Linked DNA regions of Homo sapiens: all the other regions are linked to region 1. Evidence: promoter capture Hi-C in 16 types of primary human blood cells and fetal thymus (Javierre and others, 2016). All regions are on one chromosome and are shown on one strand. Each heading gives the region's core, a stretch centred on a gene start or on the middle of the fragment in contact. The rest is flanking DNA. Distances are from core to core; before and after follow the strand shown. Region 1 holds the start of NEK5 (NIMA related kinase 5). Region 2 overlaps INTS6 (integrator complex subunit 6). Region 3 overlaps INTS6 (integrator complex subunit 6).

The links. The method cuts DNA at HindIII sites, captures the fragments that hold promoters and counts their contacts. A CHiCAGO score of 5 or more calls a contact.
Region 2: a fragment that was not itself captured here is called in contact with the fragment with the promoter of NEK5 in region 1 in 2 of 17 cell types (total CD4 T cells and total CD8 T cells); the score reaches 7.5 in total CD4 T cells.
Region 3: a fragment that was not itself captured here is called in contact with the fragment with the promoter of NEK5 in region 1 in 2 of 17 cell types (neutrophils and total CD4 T cells); the score reaches 6.4 in neutrophils.

Annotation. Positions count from the first base shown.
Region 1 is chr13:52,127,768-52,130,467 of GRCh38, forward strand. NEK5 (NIMA related kinase 5) reads right to left here and starts at 1,306. Exons shown (of 24, transcript NM_001365552.1): 1 at 1,262-1,306. It overlaps LOC101929657 (a long non-coding RNA gene), which reads left to right and starts at 1,128. Exons shown (of 2, transcript NR_110306.1): 1 at 1,128-2,700. The HindIII fragment of the contact is 11,669 bases long and covers 1-2,700 here.
Region 2 is chr13:51,407,683-51,410,382 of GRCh38, forward strand. The region is part of intron 4 of INTS6 (integrator complex subunit 6); the gene reads right to left. Among named protein-coding and RNA genes, the nearest start is that of INTS6, 44 kb to the right of the region's middle. The HindIII fragment of the contact is 1,192 bases long and covers 837-2,028 here.
Region 3 is chr13:51,389,543-51,392,242 of GRCh38, forward strand. The region is part of intron 5 of INTS6 (integrator complex subunit 6); the gene reads right to left. Among named protein-coding and RNA genes, the nearest start is that of MIR5693, 42 kb to the left of the region's middle. The HindIII fragment of the contact is 3,957 bases long and covers 1-2,700 here.

The DNA of each region.
Region 1 (2,700 bases), core at 56-2,555:
TTTCCTAATTTCTAAAATGGAATAACAATACCTGTTTTGCAAGTTTGTTCTGAGAATGAAAGATACTATATCCGGTGTTTCGCACCTTTATAAAGCAGGAATGTCCTTAGGCTTGTGCACTTTTATAGTTCAGCCTTTCTTAGTGGGGACGTACTGCCCCCTAGGGGGAATTCTGGAAATATATGGGGGTGGGGAAGCTGTTTCCCCAAGATTCAGAGGCATGAGGTTTACAGGTGGTTGGGGCCTGAGATGGTAGGATTCTGCGATTCGAGAGACAGTCCCGCACAATAAAGGATTACCCCGCGGCCCTACAATCTTGGAGAGTCTTCCTATACATTCCTGTGCGTGGAAAAATCCGTTTGTGGCTAGAACCAAACTCTATTTTACATCGAAATGCTAAGTATTTTTGCAGTTTTAATGAACACTTCTTTTTTTTTTCGAGGAATGCAACTACATGTAAATCAAGGCTTGATTGCACTTCGGTTTGGAGGTTTACCAAGAATTGTTCACCATTTGGGAAAACCACGCGCTTCACTGGCCACGCTGCTCCTGGTCCCGGAGACCCAACAATCTGCATTTGCTGCCGTCACGTTCAGGCGACTCCCCAGGCGCGGCTACTGGCTACTTCTCTACATTTTCCAAGGGTAGTAGTGCCAAGCATTTTCAGATTGAAATATGTACTTTCTTACTTATTGCTTTCCTTCTATTTCCTCTTTATGCTACAGTTAGGGCATAATACAGTTTTGTTGTTGTTGTTAATGGGGTGAGCAGGGGGCTTGTTTTCGAATAATTTTACGTCAGGGTGGGAAGTCGGTACTGGGTTGCAGGGGGCTGGGAACCAGCTCCGCAGCCAGGAGAGGCTGCAGACACCGGAGGATCGGGTTCTGAGAGAGACGCATACGGACTTGGGGCCGGGGGTGACTCGCCGGGAACTGAGGGCCCGCGACCCTCCCGCCCAAGTGGCACCAAAGGGTGGAAGCCCCCAAATTAGGAAAATTCCTTCTCCCCTAGGGCCGCCCCTGGAAGCGGCCGCGGGTGAGTGGCAAGACGCTTACCCGTACCCGACCTCCGCGTGTGGAGCGTTGCCATAGAGACCGACGCGCCCTGGACGCTACACCCACACAGCCCAGGACGCTAGGCCTTTTCTGGGCCGCCCCCGCCGCCCCAGGCCGAAACTCCATCCCTTTCCCCCACCCTGCCGAGCTCCCGAAGCCCTGTGGCGGCTCCGGGCAAGAACTAAGGGCGGCCCCTGCAAGCGTACCTGCTCCGCCGGCTCCGCGGGGCCAACGAAGCGTCCCGGAAGGATCCGGGTTCCCGGGGCCGCTGCGCCTCCCTGCGGCCGGGGCGGAGCCGCGCAAGGAAACGCGGGCGGGGCGCGGGTCTGGAATGGCCTGGGGACCAGTCCACCTCGAGGCAGGGTCAGGCGCCAGGGAGTTTGGAGACCCGGCAGAGTCACCCCGCAACCGTCCCGTTGCCTTGGGTCGGGATTCCTTTGCTTTGCAGTCTACAGTAGCGCTCCCCGCTCTTGCTTAAGGTGCACCAGACGCTTCGCAAACGTTCTCTCTTTTCTTTACAACCCGTCAAGGCAGTAGTCTCCCAGTTTTACAAATGAGCTAAACTGATACAGGAAGAGTGTTTCTTGTACAAGGTCTCAAATATTGCCAAAAGGTGGACGTGAGACTGGAACGGCTTCCTACTCTTTGGGCCACAGCGGCGGCCTGCCAAGGGACTTTCTAACGAAACCGGCGCTGCCCAAGCGTCTGCACTCACGCCCAGTGCTCATCCCACCCTGCCCCATTCTGGATTTGCACATCAAGCTGCTGTCTAAAATGTTTAAGTAGTTGAAAAAAATGTAATTTTCAGCAATTGTAAATAGTGACGCAAGTTAAATATATCCAACTGAATCGAAACACTACAGTAATATGGTACCCTCCATCGTCCACCTCACACACACACACAAAAAAAACCCACAAAAAACTCTTAAAAATCCTAAGTTTACATCATTACTCTTCCTTCTTAAAATCATCTCTCCGCCGCCCCCTCCCCGTCCCTGCCACAAAAAATTTCTTCTTCTTGTAAGCACTCTAGTCAAGTTGGATTAGGGCTGAACTAAAGGCCTCATTTTGATCTAATTGCATCTTTAAAGTCTCTGTCTCCGAATATAGTCTCATTATTAGTTATTGGTGTTAGATTTCAGTGTGTGAATTGGGGGTGGCCGCGGCGGGGGTGAATGCAGCCCGTAGCAGGAGTCCAAAAGTTGTTTAGCAGTTGGAATATCCAATGTTAGTTTCTTTGGCAGTGAAATTCCCTCAAAATATTAGTAGGTATATGATCTACTTGTTTTTGTTTAATTACACGTGTCAGTGACCACACCCAAATTTCTTCCCTAGAATTCTTAGACATGCTTCATTAAATCATATCTTCATTCTACTTTCCTGATAGAATTTTACCCGTTATCTTTTTCATACTTGAAAGTCTTATTGATCATCCTATCATACTGCTGAAAGAAGTACAGAAATGGAAATTTATATTTCCTGCTCATAGAATTTTAGTTTTTCTGGATTAAATTGTTAAAATTACTAGTACTACACAATTGATCACAATAAAATGTATCACAATACTGATAATTATTAAATATAAAAAATAAAATTGTATTGAAAATTCATCTCTTTAAGACCTGGATGGGCTTCCCATGCACCG
Region 2 (2,700 bases), core at 183-2,682, 720 kb before region 1:
TTAAAAAAAGACTACAAAACTAAGTTCCAAATAGACGCATACATACACCATAAGAGTGTTTCTGTACGGTATGGCCAGGCATAGTGGTTCATGCCTAAATCCCAGCAATTTGGGACTTGAGGCCAGGAGTTTGAGACCAGTCTGGCCAACACAGCAAAAGCTCGTCTGTACTAAAAATACAAAAATTAGCCAGACATGGTGGCACACGCCTGTAATCCCAGCTACTCGGGAGGCTGAGGCTGGAGAATCGCTTGAACCCAAGAGGCAGAGGTTGCAGTGAGCCAAGATCGTGCCACTGCACTCCAGCCTGGGCAACAGAGTGAGACTCGGTCTCAAAAAAAAAAAAAAAAGTACAATAACATTTTCAATGCTAAAGTATAACTATAGATAATTGTTAAATAATAGCCCAAATTATTCAGAATCTACCATAAAACATTTAGACTAGAATAAACCATTGAGATGGGTTTTTTTTTTTTTTGAAATGGAGTTTCGCTCTTGTTGCCCAGGCTGGAGTGCAGTGGTGCAATCTCGACTCACTGCAACCTCTGCCTCCCAGGTTCAAGTGATTCTCCTTCCTCAGCCTCCCGAGTAGCTGGGATTACAGGCGCCTGCCACCATGCCCAGCTAACTTTTTGTATTTTTAGTAGAGACGGGGTTTCACTATGTTAGCCAGGCTGGTCTTGAACTCCTGACCTCAGGTGATCCACCCTCCTTGGTGTCCCAAAGTGCTGGGATTACAGGCAAGAGCCACTGCACCCGGTCATTGAGTTTTATTAATAAGTCAGAAAGTTCATTTAAAGCACATTGGCCAGGAATCTTAAAAATTATAAAGGAAAAGCTTTGAATCATTTTGGAGAGCCATTATTTTTCCAGGTAACTGAGAGCACTTAATGCCTCAAGCACAAAAACATCAACAGAAACCTTCTGTAGTATGTTATGTATGTCCCTATTTGTGAAACTAGGTTGTATTAAAAAATAATAATCTCTTTCTTGATAACTCAAAGAAGTAGGAAAAAAACTTAAAGACCTTTTGACCACACCAAATATTGCCCATAATCACACAAGTTAAGAGACTGATAATTCATCATTTACTGAATGCTTATAATGTGACAAGGTTTCAATGAGTTACCTTGCTTTAATCATCTTATTTAATCCTCCAACAAACCTAAAACCTATAACTTAAATTCTAAGGTGTATCATCACTTTAATATATTTCTTTGCTTCCCCAAATTTAACATTAAATGTGCATAAAAATTTTTCCAACTATAGCATAAAATTATCTAGGCAGCTGCATATCCCTTTCTTCTTCCATATCATAGCTCCATAGCATTTGAGTATCACAGAGTTTGAGTCTACGCCTTCCCCAGACTAAGTCTACTAATTAAATTCCTTTTGGCCATTAGAAGTTAAGCAGAGCATCAGGGTCATATTTTATAACGTGTGCTTAATGATCTTGACCTTTTTAGCACCATGAGTTTGAAAAATGTAATTTCAGCTGGGCACAGTGGAGGCAGAGGTTGTAGTGAGCCGAGATTGCACCACTGCACTCCAGCCTGGGTGACAGAGTGAGAATCCGTCTCAAATAATAATAATAATAATAATAATAATAATAATAATAATAATAATAATAATAGTATAACTTCAAGGTATACTAAAGACTCTGAGTATTTCATTCGTACTTTCTAGGAGAATATTTATATTCTTATTTCAATTACAAACTACCAGCCAATATAACACTTATCTTTTAAATGTTGGCTTTGGACAGATATTAGATTCCTCAGTAACAGTTTTTCATAGTCAGTGAAACAGTTATGATACCATCTCATAGCTTTGATAGTTTTATTTGTTTTCTCAGAAATTTGGCAATGTCAACTGCCTTTATTTGTGCTGTCTGATATAGGTTAGGTAATTTATTATTTGTATTTTTTTTGTTACAATGCTAATTCATCATAGGTAGTATTTTTTTTAATTTTAAGGAACAATTGGTGTTCCTTAAAATTAAATGTTAATGTTAACAAATTAATGTTAAGCTTCTAGATTTCAAGACAAGACAACAATGTCCATTCTCACTACTTCCACCAGTACATTGAAGCAAGAAAAAGAAATAAAAGGCAGACAGATTTGGAAAGGAAGAAGTGTACCTGTCTATATTCAGACAAGATGATTTTGTACGTAAAAAGCTTCAAGGAATCTAGAAAAGCTACTAGGTAACAAGAAAATTTAGAAAGGTCACAGGATACCAGGTAAAGATGCAAAAAAATCAACTGTTTATGTACTAACAACAAATCATCAGAAGTTGAAAGTAAAAAGACCAATCAATAATAACATCAAAATATATAAAATACCCAACATATGTATAAACTCCCATCTGAAAACTACAAATATTGCTGAAAAAATCAAACACTTAAATCTGAAAAATATGCCATGCTCATGGATCAGAATAGCCAATAAGGTAAAAAGTGTCATTTTTCCCTCAAACTGATTTATAGATTCAATGTAATTCCAATAAAAATTGCAGTAAGCTTTCTTATAAAAACTAATAAACCTGATTCTAAATTTACATGTAAACTCAAAGGACCTAGAATAAACAAAGCAATTTGGATAAAAACAAAGTTGGAGACTTAACTAAATGATTTCAAAACTCGTTATAAAACCACAGTAGTTGACACCATGTTGTATTGCCGAAGACACAGGTTATCA
Region 3 (2,700 bases), core at 47-2,546, 740 kb before region 1:
TTTCTGACAGTACTAATTAACAAAAGTTCAATGGTAAAAGTTGACTAATTTCATTATCTTATGAAAGAATGCACAAAAATCATTATTTCCAACCAACCAACAATCCCATTTTGTGAGAGTATGTACATTTTTTCTTCTAATTACAGGTATTTGGAACATAGAATTCTTGGTCTGAACAAAACACATGAAAACAAGTCACATATTTTATGTTTTTTAAAACATATATATAAAAAACACTATCTCCAACTGTTATGCAATACAATTTATCTTTAACACATATACACACACACATCTAGTAACTGTCTCCCCAAAATCTTATTCCTGCTTAACAAAAGTATTATCACTAAGATTTACTGTGCACATAGTAGGTATGTAATAACTACTTGTTTACTGGCAGTTTTTAAGTATTTTAAATATTTGCATTTTAATATACAGATGGTAGCGTGTGCTTTTCTGAATTTCACTTAGCTTATGTAAACACTTGGGAATTACCTGTCTCACGTGAATTCCCCTTTTGTACGTTTTAACTTATACTACTTTTGGTTCAGAAGCATTAAATACTAGTGATTTTTTTAAAAAGATACCAGTGAAAAGATCTTTTAAAGAGGAATTTTCAACAAAAATATCTAGACCTTTGCTATACAATACTTTATATACTAGACACATGTAGCTATTGAGAACTTGAAATATAGCTAGTCTGAATTGAAATGTATAGTAAGTAAAATATACACCTGATTTTGTTGACTTAGTATGAAAAAATATAAAACATCTCATTAGTAATTTTAAAATATCAATCTCACACTGAAGTAATAAGGATATATTGATTTAAATAAAATATATTATTAAAATTAATTTCATCTATTTTTAATTTTTAAAGTGGCTACTATGAAATTTTTTATTACATATGAAATTTGAATCAGATTTCTATTATACAGTTCTGATCCAGACCAACACTAAAAACCTTGACAGCTAAAACTCAATCTTTGGCCAAATATTTTGCAACATTATTTGTAATAAGCTCAATATGATGCCCTACTCTTTTACACATTCAACCAATTATTTCACAACACAAGCTACATCATTACATTTGACACATCAAATTACTTATATCAACTTACACTTAACGTGATTTGTTAAAGGCTACTCAGAAAAGAGAACATTATAGACAATGGTGATTCAAATCCTCAAAGTCAGCTTTACTTAGAAAAAATAAATACAACAACTTAACTGTATAAAATAATGATGATTATAACCTTAACAAATATCTACCAATTACTGAGTATCTACGTGCCTGGCACTGTTCCAATCATTTTATGATTATTAATTTCTTTAATCTCAGCAACAATTGTATGGGTTATTTTCCCCATTTTACAAATGAGAACACTAAGGCACAGAGAGGCTAACTAACTTTTCCAAGTTAGTATAGTGATAGAGTTACAATTCAAACCCTTACAGTGTATCAGAAACTATTCTGGATATCCTTTGTCCCTTGGAAATCCTCTGTGAATTTGAAATCAGTACTTAAAATACAGCATCTATATGAAGTCATGCTTACTTGAAAGAATTGGTAAATTCAAATTTTTTTCTAAGTCAATTTAAGTATATACAAAAAGCAATCCATAAAAAGGCTAACCATCTTTACATGCAAAATATTAGAAGTTTACATAAAGGTTGAGTATCTTATTTCATGAAATTTAAGCATATTCCTAAGATGTCATTAAAAAGCAAAAATTTTAAAGTATATAAACTATGACAATTATCTTGCTCTCCTAAGTTGTGTCATCAATTAAGAAAACATAAGCAAATCAATCTTAACACGAAATAAAATTACTAATCAGTATATTTTACAAAAATTGGAGAAAAAGAATAAAATGAGTCATTTGGTAATAAAAATCTATTAATTATTTTAAAAGTTAAACAGAAATAGCAAATTTTGCTTTCTTTACAAAGTGAGCCTATATCCTCCGTAATGTTCCTCATGTGTACTTATTGTCTATGTCAAAACTTACTCCTTGGGATATACAACACTTTGTGCTAATGCATAAAGTTTCTAGGATCACTACTTGTATTTGTGAAAAAAGTTTTATTAGCACACACCTTCAAGTCAAGAAGCTGTCTCACTTTGGGTTATGTAGAGTCCACAAAAAAGTCAAACTAAATATAGTGAGTCTAAAGGCAGTATTAGCATCTTTGTCAAATAGAGAAGAAGCAAATGAACATTTCTAAGTTGGTCAATAGTCCTTACAGAGGCTAAGAAAGTTAAATGTATTTAATCTAGAAATATCTATAATTTTTATAAAATACTTAAAAAATTCTTGATATATTTAACAACATGTCTATTACACATTTTAAAATTTGCTATCATCCTTGCACCTCCCCTAAACCTGCTTCTCCCCAGTGTACCATCTCAGTCCTTGGCACAGCCATCCATCTCTAGTGGTTCGGACCAACTGAATCATCTGGGAACCATCCTGGATTGCTTCTTCCCTTATTGTCCTCATCCTTGGTTCTCTTTTGCATTAAGCCACCTCTCAGGACCTCCAAAGCTAGCATAGAACAAAGTACTACTACTAGTCTTCCTGCTTTCATTCTTGCCACTCTATATTCTCATCTAACAGGTGAAGTGGTATTTCAGAAATAGAAATCAGACGTCACCTCCCGTAAAAAGCCTTCAAAAGGCTTCACATCATACTTGGAATA